2 separate regions of the Homo sapiens genome follow, and region 2 is linked to region 1. The links are contacts of gene promoters, found by promoter capture Hi-C in human tissues and cell types (Jung and others, 2019). All regions are on one chromosome and are shown on one strand. Each heading gives the region's core, a stretch centred on a gene start or on the middle of the fragment in contact. The rest is flanking DNA. Distances are from core to core; before and after follow the strand shown. Region 1 holds the start of SOBP (sine oculis binding protein homolog). Region 2 overlaps SOBP (sine oculis binding protein homolog).

What was found. The method cuts DNA at HindIII sites, captures the fragments that hold promoters and counts their contacts. A contact is called where the count stands out against the background at its distance.
Region 2: a fragment that was not itself captured here is called in contact with the fragment with the promoter of SOBP in region 1 in 1 of the 25 tissues and cell types used here (dorsolateral prefrontal cortex).

Annotation. Positions count from the first base shown.
Region 1 is chr6:107,488,658-107,492,134 of GRCh38, reverse strand. SOBP (sine oculis binding protein homolog) reads right to left here and starts at 2,018. Exons shown (of 7, transcript NM_018013.4): 1 at 1,423-2,018. The coding sequence starts at 1,518. RefSeq lists silencers at 1,639-1,698, 1,739-1,788. The HindIII fragment of the contact is 10,430 bases long and covers 1-3,074 here.
Region 2 is chr6:107,626,350-107,629,860 of GRCh38, reverse strand. All of the region lies in intron 5 of SOBP (sine oculis binding protein homolog), which reads right to left. Among named protein-coding and RNA genes, the nearest start is that of SOBP, 140 kb to the right of the region's middle. The HindIII fragment of the contact is 3,928 bases long and covers 1-3,511 here.

The DNA of each region.
Region 1 (3,477 bases), core at 769-3,268:
CATAAGAAACAGCATTGATTTCCAAGGCAAATCTCCCTTAACTCTCCGTTGGACTCATGCTGCACCTCATGCTTCCAGGTACTAAGTTCCTTATCCAGTAATAAAACCCCTAATTCTGATATTTAGGTTGCTTCTGACATTTCTGAGAAGTAAAGCTAAGCATATGCACCTAGGTACGCATACATATATGATATATATCCATGCGTCCCCTGCTAAGCGTGAGCTATGATAGAAAATGCTTGTTCTAATGAAGAAAGCGTCAAAGCGCAATAAATTTGACTTACTTGCACACCATTTTCATCCAGTTTGTTTTTTAAATACAAACTGAACCAAAACTGGCCAAGTAGTAGTATTAAGCCACCTGGTAGTATTAAGGATTTCATGCAGAAGATGGGGAACACCAAGAAGACCGCAAAATGCAAACCTGCTACTTTTTGATGGCTCGCAGAAAAATAAATAAATTGTTTTATATCAATAGAGACTCGTGAAATCAACACAGAATAAAACCCTCGCCCAGGCAAAAGCCGCAACTTCATGGAAAATAAGGAGGTGGGGGGCAACGAGGGGGTCCAGAGCTGAGCGGTGCTCTTGTGCAATTGCTCTAACGCGAACAGCTGGAGCGCCAGGCTGCTGCGCTCTCCACCTCTGGTGCACCGCTGGCCTGGCGGGGAGCCCAGCCTCGCCGAGAGGACTCCGGGCCGGCCTTAGCGAACAATGGACAGGCGCCCTGCAAAGGCCGCCCCTCAGACAGCTGTCCTCCAGCGGGGCTGGCCGGGGTCTGCTTGGCTGGGAAGTGAGGCAGGCAGAGGCGAGCGGGAGGCGGAGGCTGCCAGTGGTGAGGTGCGGGCGGGGGCGGGCGAGGAGAGCGGTCAGGACCGTGCCCAGACCCGCGCCTCTCGGGCCGCAGCTCGCCGGGCACTGACGGGCTCTTCACGCCGTCGCAGCTGGTTGGTTGGGGGGAAGCGGGATTGAGGAGCAGGAGGGTGAGCTGGGGGAGAGGGGTGGAATAGAGCTCTCTCCGGGGTGCCCCGGCCAGGAGGCTCCTAACTTTGGAGGGACCCTGAGGATGATTCTCAAAAAGGGGGGAGAAACTGCACCGTCCACTGGGAAAGCCTCTTCCCCTGCCCAACGCCGCTCGAGTCCCCGGTGCCCTCGCCCTGAAACGCGTCCGTGCCAACCTGGGATTCGTAAGGTTAAATAGTATGTGGTCCCCCCTCATCAAATCTGAGGTTGGCAACAATTTCGGGGATGCAGCCCTCGAGTTGGCCTCTGCTTTACACCTGGAGGAGGAGCGGAGCCGTTCTGGGCATCCTACAGAAACTGACAAGCGCGCCCCGGTACCCCCCAGATCCATACCACGGCCCACGGGGAGCGGGCGCAAGAAAGAGCTCAGTCTCCCTGGCCCCCGAGATCAAAAAATACCTTCATCTCCTCATTGATCTCCCTTTTCACTGGGTGAGCCGGCTTCCTGCTCCGTTTATTTTCGGGAGGTCTCCCTTCTTTCTCCATTTCTGCCATGTTTTTGTGTCTGGTTTCTGTGGAGATGAAATGGCTGCTGCCGCCGCCGGCGGTGGTGGTGGCGGCGGCGGCGGCGGTGGAGGTGGTGCTGATGGTGGCGAGGCTGGCGGAGGTAGCGGTGCTGGCGGGGCCGGACCGAGCCGCGAGGGGGAGGGCAGGCGCCGAGAAGCGGGGTCTCTTCTAGCGGCGGAGGACGTCAGTGGCTGTCACGGGTAAGGATAGTGCGGAGAGTCTCGGGGATGCCGCCGCCGTCGCTCCGGCTCCTGCTGCCGCCGCCGCCGCCGCCGCAGCCAACGCCGCCGCTGCTGCCGCTGCCCCTGCCGCCCTCGCTGCCGCTGCCGCTCCCGCCGCCGCCGCCGCCGGGCCGCATCCTCGGGGCCCCGTGGAGTCGTCAGCCATCTTCCGTCGCTCGGTCCGTCCGCATGGGCGCGGGGAGCAAGGGCCGGCGCGGAGAGCGGCCCCGGGCGTGCGTGCGCGGCTGTGTGTGAGCCCGGGAGAGCGCGCCAGCCCCGGCGCCCAGCGCCTCCCGCGAGCCGAGCCGGGGGCGGGCCGGGGGCCGGCGCGGGAGGAGGGGAGGGAGCGCGGCCGGGAGGGGGTCGGAGGGAGGGGAAAGGTGGGGGGGGCGAGGACAGCCCCCCGGCTCTCGAGCGGGCGTGGCTTCCACCGTCACTGGATACGCGGATGCTGCGCGGCTCCGGGGGCTGCTCGCAGCCGCCTGTTCATCCGCGGCGGGCACGGGCGGCTCGCGGCGCCCCCCGCGGCCGCCACCTCCCCGCCACACGCCAGGGGCGCCGGCGCCCGCTCGGAACCCAGCCCTGCTTCTCAGCTCCGCGAGGTGGGCTGGGTTGCGTGTGGAGTTGGTTTTTGAGCCCGTCCTAGGAGCCGCTGAGGAAAAATGAATGGGGGTGAAAGGAGAAGGTTGGGCGGCGGGAGGTCGCGAGACCTGAGGTCGCCTGGCTAGAGGGCCGCCGTCCCCCGGGGAGGGTTGACTGAGCCTGCCGCCTCGGGGGTGCAACGCTGGGGTCTCGGGGAAAGGAAACCACAGCCCGGACGAGCTTCCCCCCACTGAGCTGCCAGAATAGTTTCCCCCTCCGGGGGCCACCGCAGAGTGCGCGGAGGCTGGAGACCCCTTGGAGAGGTCCCCGCGCCCCGCCCGGCCGGTCCTCCACGCGGCGCTGCCTCGGACTGCAATGGCAATGAAGCTTTTGCCTCTCAAAGAACTACTTAGAAGTAGGACATCTCGGCCTTCAGCCCCTTCATTTCTTTTTCCCCTTGTTCCTTCTCTCTTTATCTCTCTCTCACTTATGCCCTGCTTCAAAGTAACAGCTTTACGCGTGACCCCGCCTGCACCCTTATCTGGGTGTCCTGGGTTTCGCCCAAAAGGTTGGGCTGAGTGGGAGCTTCTGGGAGCGCACGGTCCCGCGTAGGGTCCCGCTCACCCGGACCCCGAACGCCCTCGCCACGCCCCGGTGGGATCCTCCCCTCCCCGCCTGGTTGCACTTTCTCCTCCCGACTTCCCAGCTAGCGCCTGCCCTCCATGGAGCGGTGCTCGCTCCCTCTGCGCTCACAAGTCCCCTCTTTGGCCCTCTCCTGCCACGCCTGGGGCCGAGGTCTGATTGAGTCTGTCCCTGTCCCTGGGTTGAGGCATTGGGGGTGACGACTGGATGATGTTTCTGTGATACGCGCGGCTCTGAGCGCTCCCACACGTTGCAGAGGACACATTGACGTTCCCGGCTTCTCCTTCCCGCGCCTCGACACTTCATAATTACCTGACACAATGCGATATGGGGGTGTCCATTGTTCCACTGCATGTTACTGTGGAGTGTTCGTTATGACAGTGGTGGAACTTAAAATTACACAATTTTTTTAAGTTCCTAAAAGAATGAATTCCGTGTGGGGATATGAGTAAGCTTTCCATTAAATCTCAGTTTGGCCTGTCAAACGAGGCTCATTCTGGGT
Region 2 (3,511 bases), core at 617-3,116, 140 kb before region 1:
ACCTTCCTGGGATGGGTCCAACTCTAAACAACAGAATGAACATTTCCTTTAGTCCATTTAGAGTATTTATATTTGGGTGGCTGACTGCCAGAGTAGTACTTATAAGCTCAGTGGCCTGATGGATTCACTCCTTTCCTGTGAAATAAATGTGTGGCAACCTACACCGCTCAACTGCTCCAAAGACACTGCCTCAGCACATATATCACTTGCTCCTGATATAAGAAAGCCGAAAGGCACGACTTGTGGTTCTTATAACTCTTTCCATCTTGTATTTCCCCAGAAAGAGAGAAAGCTATTCATGTTGGCAACTGAGCCTTTATTTTTATATAAACGTCAAAGTCAAGGCCAAAGTATGCCATGAGGTTACCCACATGGGCACGATATACAGGTTCTTCTGGGCTTAAGAAAAAACTCAGGCAACTGAGGGAGGGGGACAGGGTTCCTAATTAACACATTCATCAGCTGTTAGCTGTGGGAGTAAAGTTCAGCCTTTAATGGAATCCACCACTGCCTTCTGAGCAGTAATCTGGCATCAGGCAATATTTAATTAAGAAACCCTTTTGCTGAAATCTTTAACTGGGCAAAGATGTTTGTAGCAATGGAACAGTAAAAAAAAAAAAAAAAAAAAAGATATTAGCACCTCCGTGAATGCCATCAACAATTTGAAAAATAAAACAAAAAAAATCTTCACGTGCTTTCCACTTCATCTGACTGTCTACTAATGTATCTCCTAGGTAACAGCTCAGACGTTGTAGCTCCTTAAGCAAAACTGTAGCTTATCATAAAAGGGAGGTTCTCTGGGCCTTGGCATGTTGACTGTGGCACTGATCTTGTAGTCTAGGCCAGCTCAAAAATCATGAACTCATTCAAGTGAAGCAAAGGAGGATGGAGGGATGTGGGCAGGGGTGCTCAGTGTTTTGAAGGCTTTGGGGTCTGCTCTGCCTGTAGACAGTCACCTCACAGCATGAGCTGAGGGCCTCAGACTGACCCACCTGAGCACTTGCTCCCAGCCCTACCCTGGAATGCCGTGGTCCCAGTATCAACTGTTCCTTTGGGTCTAGACACTGCCACCAGCAGGGCCCTAGTTCAGTGTCCCTGAGTGGCAAAAGAGGCTATGGAAATCACATGGGATTTAGAATCAAAAGATGTTGGCATGAATCTGGGCTTTATTCCTTATTAGCAGTGCAACATTACGAAAATCTCAGCCTCAGTTTCTTTATCTGTAAAATGGAGCTAACAGTCTAATGATTGTGTGCTAGGCATATCACTAAGCTTCTTACAGAGTATATATTTTCAATCCCCAGCCTGTCCCACATGTTTTACATGTGTTTTATGGGGAGGATGCTTCTATGGCTGCAGGAAGAGGGAAAGGGAGATTTTCATCCACTGCTTTCCTATGAGCCTGTGTGTCTTTGAGATAAAACAGGGCACGTTTCTCTCTGGGCAAACTCATGCTACACCTCACAGATACCAGCCCCCACCTTGCTCCCTAGGAGGCTCTGTCCCCAGGGCTAACAGAGGAGCTGTCTGCAGGGACAAGGAACCAGCCCACAATTCTATGTGCATCCCAGCTGCCCACCATCCTGAAAAGCCTCTATTCAACTCCTGCTGAGCCCTCTTATTTTTCCAAGGCCAGTCATTTTCTAATTCAGGCAAAAGCTTGATAAAGCGACATGGCTGCTTGGAAATGAGCGTTAGAACCATTAAAATGAATCATTCCTCTTCGGCTCAACTGCTGTTTGAATAGTGGAAGCCATAAACTGTGCCATGCATATTGTATTAAAAAACAGAGCTGATGGACGATCTGCTTGACTCATTACATGGCAGAACTATCTTCCAAAGGAAAGGCCAGAAGCCACAGTATCAGGTGCCTTTTAAGACTGGATGACCCCAACCTGCCATGGCAGAATGTTCACTTGAGGGAAGAGCCCCCACAAAATGGGGAAGGGCACACCAACACTAAGCTCACCATTCCAAGTTTTTCTTGCAGAGCTGGATTTGAGTGAAGGAAGGAAAAAGATGACCTAGTCATAGACATGCAAAGCCATACGGAATTGAGAGAGGAATTTAAAGTAGAAACAGGAAGGGCTCTTATACAATAAAAACAAATGCATGAAGAAGTTCATTTTCAAAACAAGAAACTTTCTGCAGGTTTAGATTCCAACATGCTGGTGTTTGCTACATAGTTCTTTTTATTTGGGTTTTTTTGTTTGTTTGTCTGTTTTGCTTTGTATTTTATTCATTCTCTAGCTTGCTCTAGCTCTCTCTCTCTCTTAAATAAGATTTGGAGCTCAAGGAGAGGCTAAAGAACATCTTTGTTAGAAGTGAAAAAATCTCATTAGAAAACTGCCCTGTAGGAACTTTATACCATGACTCAAGTTCTACTTATCTTATAAATTTTAAGCTGGGTTCTAGAAATCTTGGCCCAGGTCACAGGAGCAGATCCTTCCTTCTCTTTCTCATGTGCCATGAACTCTGTAAGGCAGAGCAGAGATGGGCTTGGTTTTCAGGATCTCAATGAGCTTTAACAAATGGCTTATCATGGACCCAAGTCTCTGATTCTACAGCCAATGCAAGAGATGGAATCCTGGCCTGTATTCAGTGACTGCAGGCCCACCCTGACAGCCAAACACATGATTCAGAAGACGATTTTTCTCTTTGGGGTGATGTTTTACGTTGCTTAAGAGTATTAATATACCATGACAAAACTCTCTGCTTCATTTAAGGTGGATGAATGCAACTTACACCTTCACAATACAAATCATCCAGATGGAAACTAAAAAATTCAATCGTACATCAAAAAACCTGGTCTGCCTGGTACCAAATGCCTGCCTCTTTGTTTTCCAGTTATTTGGTCCTGAGAGGGCACAGAAATCACCTAAGAAATCTCAAAGCAGTGAAATTAAGCCCTGAAAGGAACCTCGGTGATCATCTCATCCTCTCCTCCAACCTCCAGCTCCCAGTGGAGCCAGGCATTTAATCCCTCTGAGCCTCAGTGCTCAGCTGTAAAAGGAGATCATCCACAGTGACGACCCTGCCTGGGGAAACATGTGAGAAAGAAAGGAAACTGGGAGGGGACTACAGACATGGAAAACGTGCCTCCTAAGAAGGGAGCAACGTCCTAGCCCATCTCCCATTGCCAGGCCGTCCCATGCCCATTTTATCAGCTCCAAGTATCACAACTACTCTCTGCCCTGAAAAATTTGCCATCACATAATCCAGTTTACTCATTGAAAAGTGAACATTTATTCAGGGCCCATCATGGGTGAGGTGCTGTGCTAGGAACCTGGGACATGAGTAAAATGAAGCTCCTGCCCTCATATGAGGTAGAATCTGCCCCAGGAAACTGGAGGCACAAGTTTTTGTTTTGTTTTCATTCAAGCATCTCTGCTTCAAACTGAAGCTTAAGAGAAAACCGATCTTCTATTTGTAACACTTTTATTCATTCAGAAATAAGTACTGCGCTGTGCTCCAGAAGGCAATGGGCTGTGGAACAGGGCAGGAGAGACTT